3 separate regions of the Homo sapiens genome follow, and all the other regions are linked to region 2. Evidence: promoter capture Hi-C in 16 types of primary human blood cells and fetal thymus (Javierre and others, 2016). All regions are on one chromosome and are shown on one strand. The core of a region is centred on a gene start or on the middle of the fragment in contact, and the rest is flanking DNA. Distances in the headings are between cores, read along the strand shown.

Region 1 (2,981 bases), core at 24-2,523, 2.0 Mb before region 2:
ATAATGAACATATTTGAAATAATTTGGGCTCTTTTAGCCAGAATTAGAATAAGATTTGTGAGGAAGAAATTGAATCTGCTTTGGTTATTTAACAGTTTTCTTGCCAGTGTATTTTATGTGGATACAGCACTTAGGAACATCAGAAACATACAGTATTATCATGCTGGAGAGAGACTGTGGGAAATGCTTCTTTTGCTGTATATGTACTCGTTTAGAATTTTGATCCAAGTTCTGGAATGTTTGTTATATCTGTACATATGTTCAACTCTGTCTTGGATTTGTTACAGTGTCCAGAGAGCATATCTAAGACTTTTCCTCTGTTTTTCTGGGGAAGTAAAACATACTTTGATGATTCCAGAAACTTTATCCGTATTTTGCTACACATATATACTTACACATATTTGCACAATGTAAACTCTATATTATGAAAATAACACTTACTCATTAAAAATCAAGAATACAGAAGTCCTGCTCCTCTGGGCTTTCTTAATAATTGGGTGTCTATTCTTCCCAGTTTTTTTCTATGTCTATAGCAGTGGTTCTTATACTTTAGTAAGCGTCAGACTCTACTGGAGGGAGTATTAAAACAGATTGCTGGGTCCCACCCCACAGATTCTAATTTAGTGTGTCAAGGGATGACTGTATTACTAGCTTTAGTTCCTTGATTGATTTCTCTTGAACTCTAAGTAATATTTTACCTTTTAATCTCTTGTTTCATTATATATAGATAATATCTCTTGATTACCTACAGTGTGATATGATGTGATATGAGTATATTAATAACATTATTCTTTCAACTCTTCCTACTTACTTTCCAAATCTTGTTTACTTGTTTGTCAACACAATCTTTGATTCCATTCTTTAACCATAATTGTCTTCTTTTCTTTGTCAAGAGTTTGATAATAACTTGGAAATGAAATAGTTTTCTTGATCTGACTGGATACTTATTGTTCTCTAGAGCACCGTGTAATGCACAATGATTTTCTTTGTTTTTTTTTAACTCTTTGTCTTCCATGGAGTTTCTATTGCCTTTATTTTTTTACTTTACCCTATACATTTACCATAGCCTCATTTTAAAATAACTCAATATACTACCATTTATTCTGTTGATATCCCCTTGCCCAACACTTATCTCTATATCCTTTACTTTATTTTGTTATTTTATTTTATTTATCTTTCTCTGCTTTTAACTGATTGCTCTCTAGGATAGCTACACAGCTGTTATCCTGGGACTGTCCTTCATAGCTCTTCTCAGTTGGATCATCTCTTTACTACATTCCCTAATTTCTTCTTTCTTAGTCCTTCCTCTTGCTGAATTACACCCTTCATTAACTTCCTAAGAGGGAAATCAATATGCTGAGTCATGCATATTTGAAAATGTCTTCAATCAGCCCTTATAAATGATTAAGTGGTTGGCTTATGTAGAATTTTCCATTGAGAATTATTTTCCCGTGAGAAATTTGAAGATATTACTACATTGTCATCTACCTTCCAGTGTTAGTGATTCTCTTTCCTTAGCAGATTATTTTTCTCCCATATTCTCTGGAAGCCTTAATATCTTTTCTTTATTCTCAGTATTCTAAAAATTATCTAATTATTCTCTTTTTTTCTCTTCTCTGTTGTCTCTGTTGGGAATCTGTTAGTTTGATGGAAAACAAACTTGATTTCATCCAATTTTATTTGATGACTATCATCTCTTCTTTATATTCTGCTTTTCTGTAAGATATTCTTCATTGAATGTCTTATCTTCCAAGTGACTGGCAATCATATTTTAATTCCTGAGTATTTTCTGATTCTCTAATTTTTTCATTTTGATAGCAAATATTATTATTTGTGGATAGACTATTTCCTTAGAGGTCTTTGAATGTATCACTTAAAATTTTTTCTTTTCCTTTATTGTTTCTTTTTCCTACCCGCCCCCGCAACCCCCAGGGTTAATTTATTTACTTTCTTAAATCTTGGGTTTTATATTGTCTTTTTAATCTTGGTCCTTATGTTGCAGGATTTCCTGAAATATCTGGTGACACTTGGTTGCACATTCATACTTAAGAATGAGGCACTAAAAACTTATGACTGAGAGCCCAGACTTCATGGATTAGTTTTTTTTTTTTTTAATTTAACAAGGATGTATTCACAGGAATACACGCAAGTAAAGAAAAATAACAGAAAAACTAAAATGAAATGAAGCGTATTCAAACCACTTCCATTCTGTGACTTTTAACTTGTAGTCTCTGCTTATATATGCAGGGTACAGGAGGCCCCCAACATGGGCCAATGCAGTGAAAGAACCCTGCATTCCATGCTCCATGGCTTAGTTCTTGATACTTTCTAAAACACCAAATTACAGATGGCTTTGCTTAGTGCTATGTCTCTTGAAATGACTCTTCTGTTTCTTCCCAATATTGTGCCCAATTTCTTTAAAAAGATCATCTTCCTTTTTTGGAGGTGGTGGCCCGGAGGTGACTTGTATTGCAAAAATAGGCAGCCAGGTGTTTTGCACATAAAAGTTAGGGATGGGATGAAAAAAAATCAACATTTATAGGCTTTTTTTTTTTTTTTTTTGTGGGGGGTGGTGGAGTTTTGCTCTGTCGCCCAGGCTGGAGTGCAGTGGTGTGATCTTGGCTCACTGTAACCTCCGCCTCCTGGGTTCAAGTGATTCTCCTGTCTCAGCTTCCTGAATAGCTGGGATTACAGGCGTGCGCCACCAAGCTGGGCTAATTTTTGTATTTTTAGTAGAGACGGGGTTTCACCATGTTGGCCAGGCTGGTCTTGAACTCCTGACCTCAGGTGATCTGCTCACCTCAGCCTCCCAAAGTGCTGGGATTACAGGCAGGAACCACTGCACCCGACCTATAGGCTGTTTTTCTTCCCATGTCTCAGTAATACTCTCCTTGTTTGCTGGTACTTTTGGGCCTTTAATTTCTCCAAGTCAGCAACTAGCTTGACTGAGACCTCCGTTCCATGTCTTTTAAGTTGTGATT
Region 2 (3,135 bases), core at 629-3,128:
TTCCGATCTGGCACAACAGGTCCGGAGAAACGCCCGGGCGCAGCTGGCAGCGCATCCCTGAAGGCTCCCGAGCAGCGCGCGGGGCTGCGACGAGGGAGGGGGCCGCGCTTCTGCAGGTCCTCGTCGCTAAGACGGGCCCCGAGACCCTCAGAAGGCGTCACCGCCACCCCGCCCATTCACCAGCGCGGAGGGGGCTAAGACGCAGGCAAAGAAAAACCTACGAATGCTTGCCTTCTCGCCTTCATCTCACAGCATTTCCTTGGAGCAGCACCAAGGAACCCTTTTCCTATCCCTTGTTTCCCTGCTATCCTCTATTTTTCAATCCTCGAGATGTTTTTAAAGTCCATTTAAGTCCCTTTGGTACAGATTTTATCTGTTTTCCACCCACAGAACAAATCCCAGGAATCTCCTTGGGGCGAATAAGATTACTAGGGGGGAAATGACACCACACACACACACACACACACACACACACACACACACACACACACACACGGGCAGTAAAGCCAAACACCTACTTCCAAGGTCCCTGCAGCCACTAGCGAGCCCCCTTGGGTGAAACCCCTGGGATTCCTCTCTTAGGCGAAGGACCGATTCCAACGACGGAATCCCAGGCTTGGGTTATTCTCCAGCTCTGGTTTCCAGACCACGGGGATTCTCTCTTTCTCAGCGGGGCGGCAGCCCCTGCAGGTTTCTGCGAACTTACGCGCCCGTCTGCACTTTTGCCCCGTCCCCGCTCCTCCCAGGAAAGCAGACAGGCCATTTCAATACCAGCCCAGAGACACGCAGAGAAGCCGCCCCCTCGCCGCCCACAGCCTCCCATTAACTCTTCCAGTATTCTTTCTAAGAACAGAGAAGTTGGCTCTTGATAAATATCCGCTGTCCGCAGCCCCGATCCTACATGATTTCCCTTCTCTCTCTCCACCTCCTCCACCCCTCGATCTGGACCAGGGAGAGTCTTCGTTAAAATCCACGCAGAAGGCGCTTGCATGCGGAGGGGAGGGCAGGTCGGGGGTGGTTACCTGGAACATCCATGCTGGGCGAGCTCCGCTGTCCGCGAAGTTGCTCTGCTTAGAGAAAATGAGGCGAGTGGGAGCTGTCGGGAGGAGGACACGGAGCGCGACCCTGCTCCCAGCGCGTGGCCAATAACCGCGCCGCCCCGCCCTGCCGCTTTCCCGCGCCAGCCTGCGCCGCTTCAGGGGTGCACCACGCCCCGCGCGCCCGCTTAGGCGCCGCGCCCGGGACCGGGAACCCCGCGTCTCGCCCGGCTCAGCGCCCCGCGCTGTGCGCCCAGGTGCCTCCAACCCCTGGGCTTCGCGCCCGCACCGCTGCCTGGGGCCCCTCGAGCTCCCGCGCTCAGCGCGTCCGCAGCGCGGCTCCCTCGCGGGTCCCCTCGGCCCCGCAGCCCCGCCAGTCTCCAGAGGGCATAGCCGAGCGCTGCCGCCTCCCTAGGACTCGGAACCTTCCCTGCTCCCAAGCCCGCCGCACCCTCCAACGCCCCGGTCCTGCTCACCCAAACGCCCAGAGCAAAATACTCCCAGACGTCTCTTTTGAAAATTAGACACCCTTAAAAGCACCGGTCGCTTCTCTTCTTTTAGATTCTTTCTTTTCTTTCCCCAATTCCCTCCAAGTCTTAATATTGAATGGCGTGACCACTTTCATAATGACAGGAGCGAAAAAAACAATAAGTTAAAAAAAAAAAAAAGAAGAAGAAGACTGGGATGGCTGGGACGAAGAGAGGGAAAAAAAAAGCTTGAGAATTTGATGATTTAGGAGCTGTGGTTCCAGAGTCCCAGTTGGGGAACTGTCCGGTTCCCGCAGGGCTAGAAGAGGGGCCTCCGGCCCGGGTCTGTGTGTCTGCTCCTCTGGACCTCGGACTGGTGGAGCGGCTGGCGCTTGCGCTTATTTATTAAATTGCGGTGTCCGCGCTCGCTCAAAGGACCCGGGGAGACGCGCTGGGTTTCCCAGCTGCGCCTGGAGCTCGGCTGAGGGCGCAAACACGGACGTGGGGCGCCACCTGCGGGTGCCCGGGCCTCCCTGCCGCAGGCTGCGGACCGGCGGACTCCGACAGAAGACGGGGGAGTCCTGGCCGCAAGGCTGAGGTTTGCTGATGGTCTTCTTTCACCCCAAAAGCAGCGCTGACCTCTGCAATAATAATAATATAATAATAATAATAATGATAGCAACCACAAGAAGAACAATAATGACCAGTCTTCCCGGTATCCTTCAGTACTTTTACTCCTGGCAAAACCAAGCAGCACGCCGCCTGATTTTCCGGATCTTCACTGATCTAACAAACAACTCTGCCAAGATGATAAATGCTGCGGTGAGGTTATCATCGGTTATTATCGTCGGCACAACGTTTGCACAGACAACTGGGCCGTATAGTTTATGCTGGTCTAAAAAACAATCAATATTTAAATCTACACTCTATAGCCTGATTTTTTTTTAAAACATGGTTAAAAAATACTTTGTCCTTTGACATGCATTATACGTCTTTTCTGATAGGCTAATAATAATAATAATAATAATAATAATAAAGTTAGCCAGTGCTGTTCATTAGAGCATCTGTATTTCTTATTCCTCCAGACTTCACACCGAACCCTCTCCCCTTTGAAGATTTCAGCAGTGTCTGATTCCACCTTAACAAACGGAGGTCTTTTCAGGTAGGGGGTTTTGAAGGCCTTATTTTCCCATAGGCCCTCTCACCGCTATTCTCCCCATTTAGAACAGAACTGCCAAGGCATCATCTCTAAGCACTGGAGATGAAATTCACGATCAGTTCAACTGGAATGGATATGCAGAAAGTCATTGCACACTGCTGCGTGAGACAAAATATTTAGTATGGGTGTAAGGATGTGATTAAAAGTACCTCTGAGCCAAATGCTTCCTGGTTAACCTAGCATGCAAAATAGTAGAAAATATACAATACTTCCAAAATCTCTCATCCTCCTAAGCTATACTCACTGTAAAGTAAATGTCATACTTCAACACTTTTGTACCATGCTGGAGATAGGTACTGGCATTTGCCAGGATGCTTTTTCAAATCCACCACAGTTTGCCATGTTTTGTTACCATTTTTGTGAGTTTAACAGAGTGGAAATGCACTCTTACTTTCAAATAGTTATTTTATTC
Region 3 (2,935 bases), core at 316-2,815, 2.1 Mb before region 2:
TATAGGTTTGCTCTCATTAGTTTCCAAGAACTCTTGATTTCTCCCTTAATTTCATTTTTTATTCAAAAGTCATTCAGGAGGATGTTGTTTAATTTCCATGTAATTGATGGTTTTGAGCAATTTTTTTAGTCCTGTTCTATTTTTATTTTGCTGTGGTCTGAGAATGTGTTTGGTATGATTTTGGTTCTTTTGCATTTGCTGAGGATTGTTTTATATTTGATTACGTGGTCAGTGTGCTATGTGGTGATGAGAAGAATGTATATTCTGTTGTTTTTGGGTGGAAAGTTCTGTAGAGCTCTATCAGATCCATTTGGTCCAATGTTGAGTTCAGCCTCTAAATACCTTTGTTAACTTTCTGTCTTGATGTTCTGTCTGATACTGTCAATGGAGTTTTGAGGTTTCCCACTATTATTATGTGTGAGTCTATGTCTCTTTAAAGGTCTCTAAGAACTTGTTTTATGAATCTGGGTGCTCCTATGTTGGGTGCATATATATTGGTGATGGGATCTGCTTTTTATGATTTCCGTTTGCTTGGTAGATTTTTTCTCCATCTCTTTATTTTGAGCCTATGGGTGTCATTATGTGTGAGATCGGTTTCTTGAAGACAGGATACCATTGGGTCTTGCTTTTTTATTCAGCTTGCCACTCTGTGCCTTTTAAGTGGGGGCATTTAGCCCATTTACATTCAAGGTTTGTATTGATATGAGTGGTTTTGATCCTGTCCTTGTGTTTTTAGCTGGTTATTATGTTGCTTTATAGTGTGACTGGTCTGTGTATTTAAGTGTGTTCTTGTATTTGCTGGTAATGGTCTTTCCTTTCTATATTTAGTTCTCCTTTAAAGATCTTTTGTAAGCAGATCTGGTGGTAACAAACTCCCTCAAAATTTGCTTATCTGAAAAGGATTTCTTCTTCACGTAGGAAGCTTAGTTTGGCTGGCTATTCTTGGTTATTTTTTTTTTCTTTAAGAATGTTGACTATAGGCCCCTAGTTTCTTCTGGCTTGTAGGGTTTCAGCTGGGGGGTGGACTGCTAGCCTGATGGTGTTCCCTTTGTAGGCAATCTGCCCTTTTTCTCTAGCTGCCTCTACCATTCTTTCATTTCAACCTTGGAAAGTCTGATGATTACGTGTTTTAAGGATGATCTTCTTGAGTAGAATCTTGCAGGAGTTCTCTATTTCCTGAATTTGACTGTTGGCCTCTCCAGCGAGACTGGGGAAGTTTTCATAGATGATATCCTGAAATATGTTTTCCAAGTTGTTTGCTTTCTCCCCTTCCTTTTCAGGGACACCAGTGGTTGGTAGATTTGCCTTCTTTATATAATTCCATATTTTTCAGAGGTTTTGTTCATTCCTTTTCATTCTAATTTCTTTATTTTCATTTGACTGTCTTATTTCAGAGAGGCAGTCTTTAATTTCTTAGATTCCTTCCTCAGCATGGTCTATTCCACTACTGATATTTGCAATTGCATTGTGAAATTCTTGTAGTGTTTTTCAGTTTTGTGAGATCCATTAGGATCTGGCTATGCCATTTTTCAGCTTCTGTATCATTTTATTGTGATATTTAGTTTCCTTGGATTGGGTTTTACTATTCTGAATCTTGAGGATCTTTGTTCCTATCCATATTCTGAATTATATTTCTGTCTTTTCAGCCAACTGAACTTGGTTAAGAACTCTTGTTGGGGCCGGGCGCAGTGGCTCATGCCTGTAATCCTAGCACTTCGGGAGGCTGAGGTGGGCAGATCACAAGGTCAAAAGATTGAGACCATCCTGGCCAACAGGGTGAAACCCCGTCTCTACTAAAAATACAAAAGTTAGCTGCGTGTAGTGGTGCGTGCCTGTAGTCCCGGCTACTTGGGAGGCTGAGGCAGGTGAATGGCTTGAACCTGGGAGGCAGAGGTTGTAGTGAGCCAAGATCACACCACTGCACTCCAGCCTGGTGACACAGCGAGACTCCGTCTTAAAAAAAGAAAAGGAAAGAAAAAAAGAACTCTTGTTGGAGAACTACTGCATTACCTGAGTTCTTGCATTGGTTCTTTCTCATCTCTGCATGTGGGTGTTCCTTTAACTGCAGTGTATATTGAGTACAGTCAATAGACTTCTTTTCTGGATGTTTTCACAGGGATGAGGCTTTTTGTGCAGCATCTTTATTTGTAGCTGACTGCTTGTCTTTGGTTTCACAGTAGGGTATGTTAGTGAGGTATTTTGGGGGTTGAAGCTTTGGAGTGTGATTCAGTAGGTGGTGCTTAGGCATATCGGTCAGTTGTTAGGCTGTTGCTCAGTTGTGTGGCTTCCCTATATTTCCTTACTGTTGCAGCCACACTCCCTCTCAGTGCTCTGAAATTTTGGCTCTTCTCTCACTTGAGTGCTGGCTGTAGATTGCAGCTTGGCACTCCTGAGCTACCCACCACAGCTCTGGGGTGATCTCAGGGTTTATGTTCCCTCCCCAACTTGGAGGCAGCAGAGGAAGGGACATTAGTAGTGGTTGTGTCCAAGGGTCTTTTGCTTGTCTCCTGGGGACTCCACCCCAGAGAAATGCAGGTCGTCAATCACTCAGTGCAATCAGTCCAGGATGGAGAGTCTGTGCTGTGGGCCCAAGCCAGGGGTTCCCTGCATGGGGACTAGTATTTTTAAGATGGCTGAAATATGTTCAATGAACAAGGGCTTTTATATAAAAATAAAGTGATTCCACCAATAGTCAGTGTTTATTCAAAGAGAAAGGTTCATAGTCAACAACATGACTCTGGTTGTTAAAGGAAATAGTGAAAATTGCGGAGAAGATAAAATCTTAGACATAAGGTGTTTTTTATTTACAGTATTTTGAGTGAGGGAGTGGGCTATGAAACTGCATTTAAAAACACCAAAATACATTGCTAATAGAAAAGCTGTTTGCATAAATTTACACGGAGGTAAAATCACTTCTTCATGTTGTTGATAAAAC

What was found. The method cuts DNA at HindIII sites, captures the fragments that hold promoters and counts their contacts. A CHiCAGO score of 5 or more calls a contact.
Region 1: a fragment that was not itself captured here is called in contact with the fragment with the promoter of CBLN2 in region 2 in 1 of 17 cell types (endothelial precursors); the score reaches 6.7 in endothelial precursors.
Region 3: a fragment that was not itself captured here is called in contact with the fragment with the promoter of CBLN2 in region 2 in 1 of 17 cell types (endothelial precursors); the score reaches 27.5 in endothelial precursors.

Annotation. Positions count from the first base shown.
Region 1 is chr18:70,501,899-70,504,879 of GRCh38, forward strand. No RefSeq gene overlaps it. Among named protein-coding and RNA genes, the nearest start is that of LINC01910, 120 kb to the left of the region's middle. The HindIII fragment of the contact is 9,214 bases long and covers 1-2,981 here.
Region 2 is chr18:72,542,464-72,545,598 of GRCh38, forward strand. It overlaps CBLN2 (cerebellin 2 precursor), which reads right to left and starts at 1,879. Exons shown (of 5, transcript NM_182511.4): 1 at 1,514-1,879; 2 at 1,023-1,067. The HindIII fragment of the contact is 3,863 bases long and covers 1,751-3,135 here.
Region 3 is chr18:70,483,114-70,486,048 of GRCh38, forward strand. The region is part of intron 1 of LOC105376872 (a long non-coding RNA gene); the gene reads left to right. Among named protein-coding and RNA genes, the nearest start is that of LINC01910, 100 kb to the left of the region's middle. The HindIII fragment of the contact is 1,290 bases long and covers 921-2,210 here.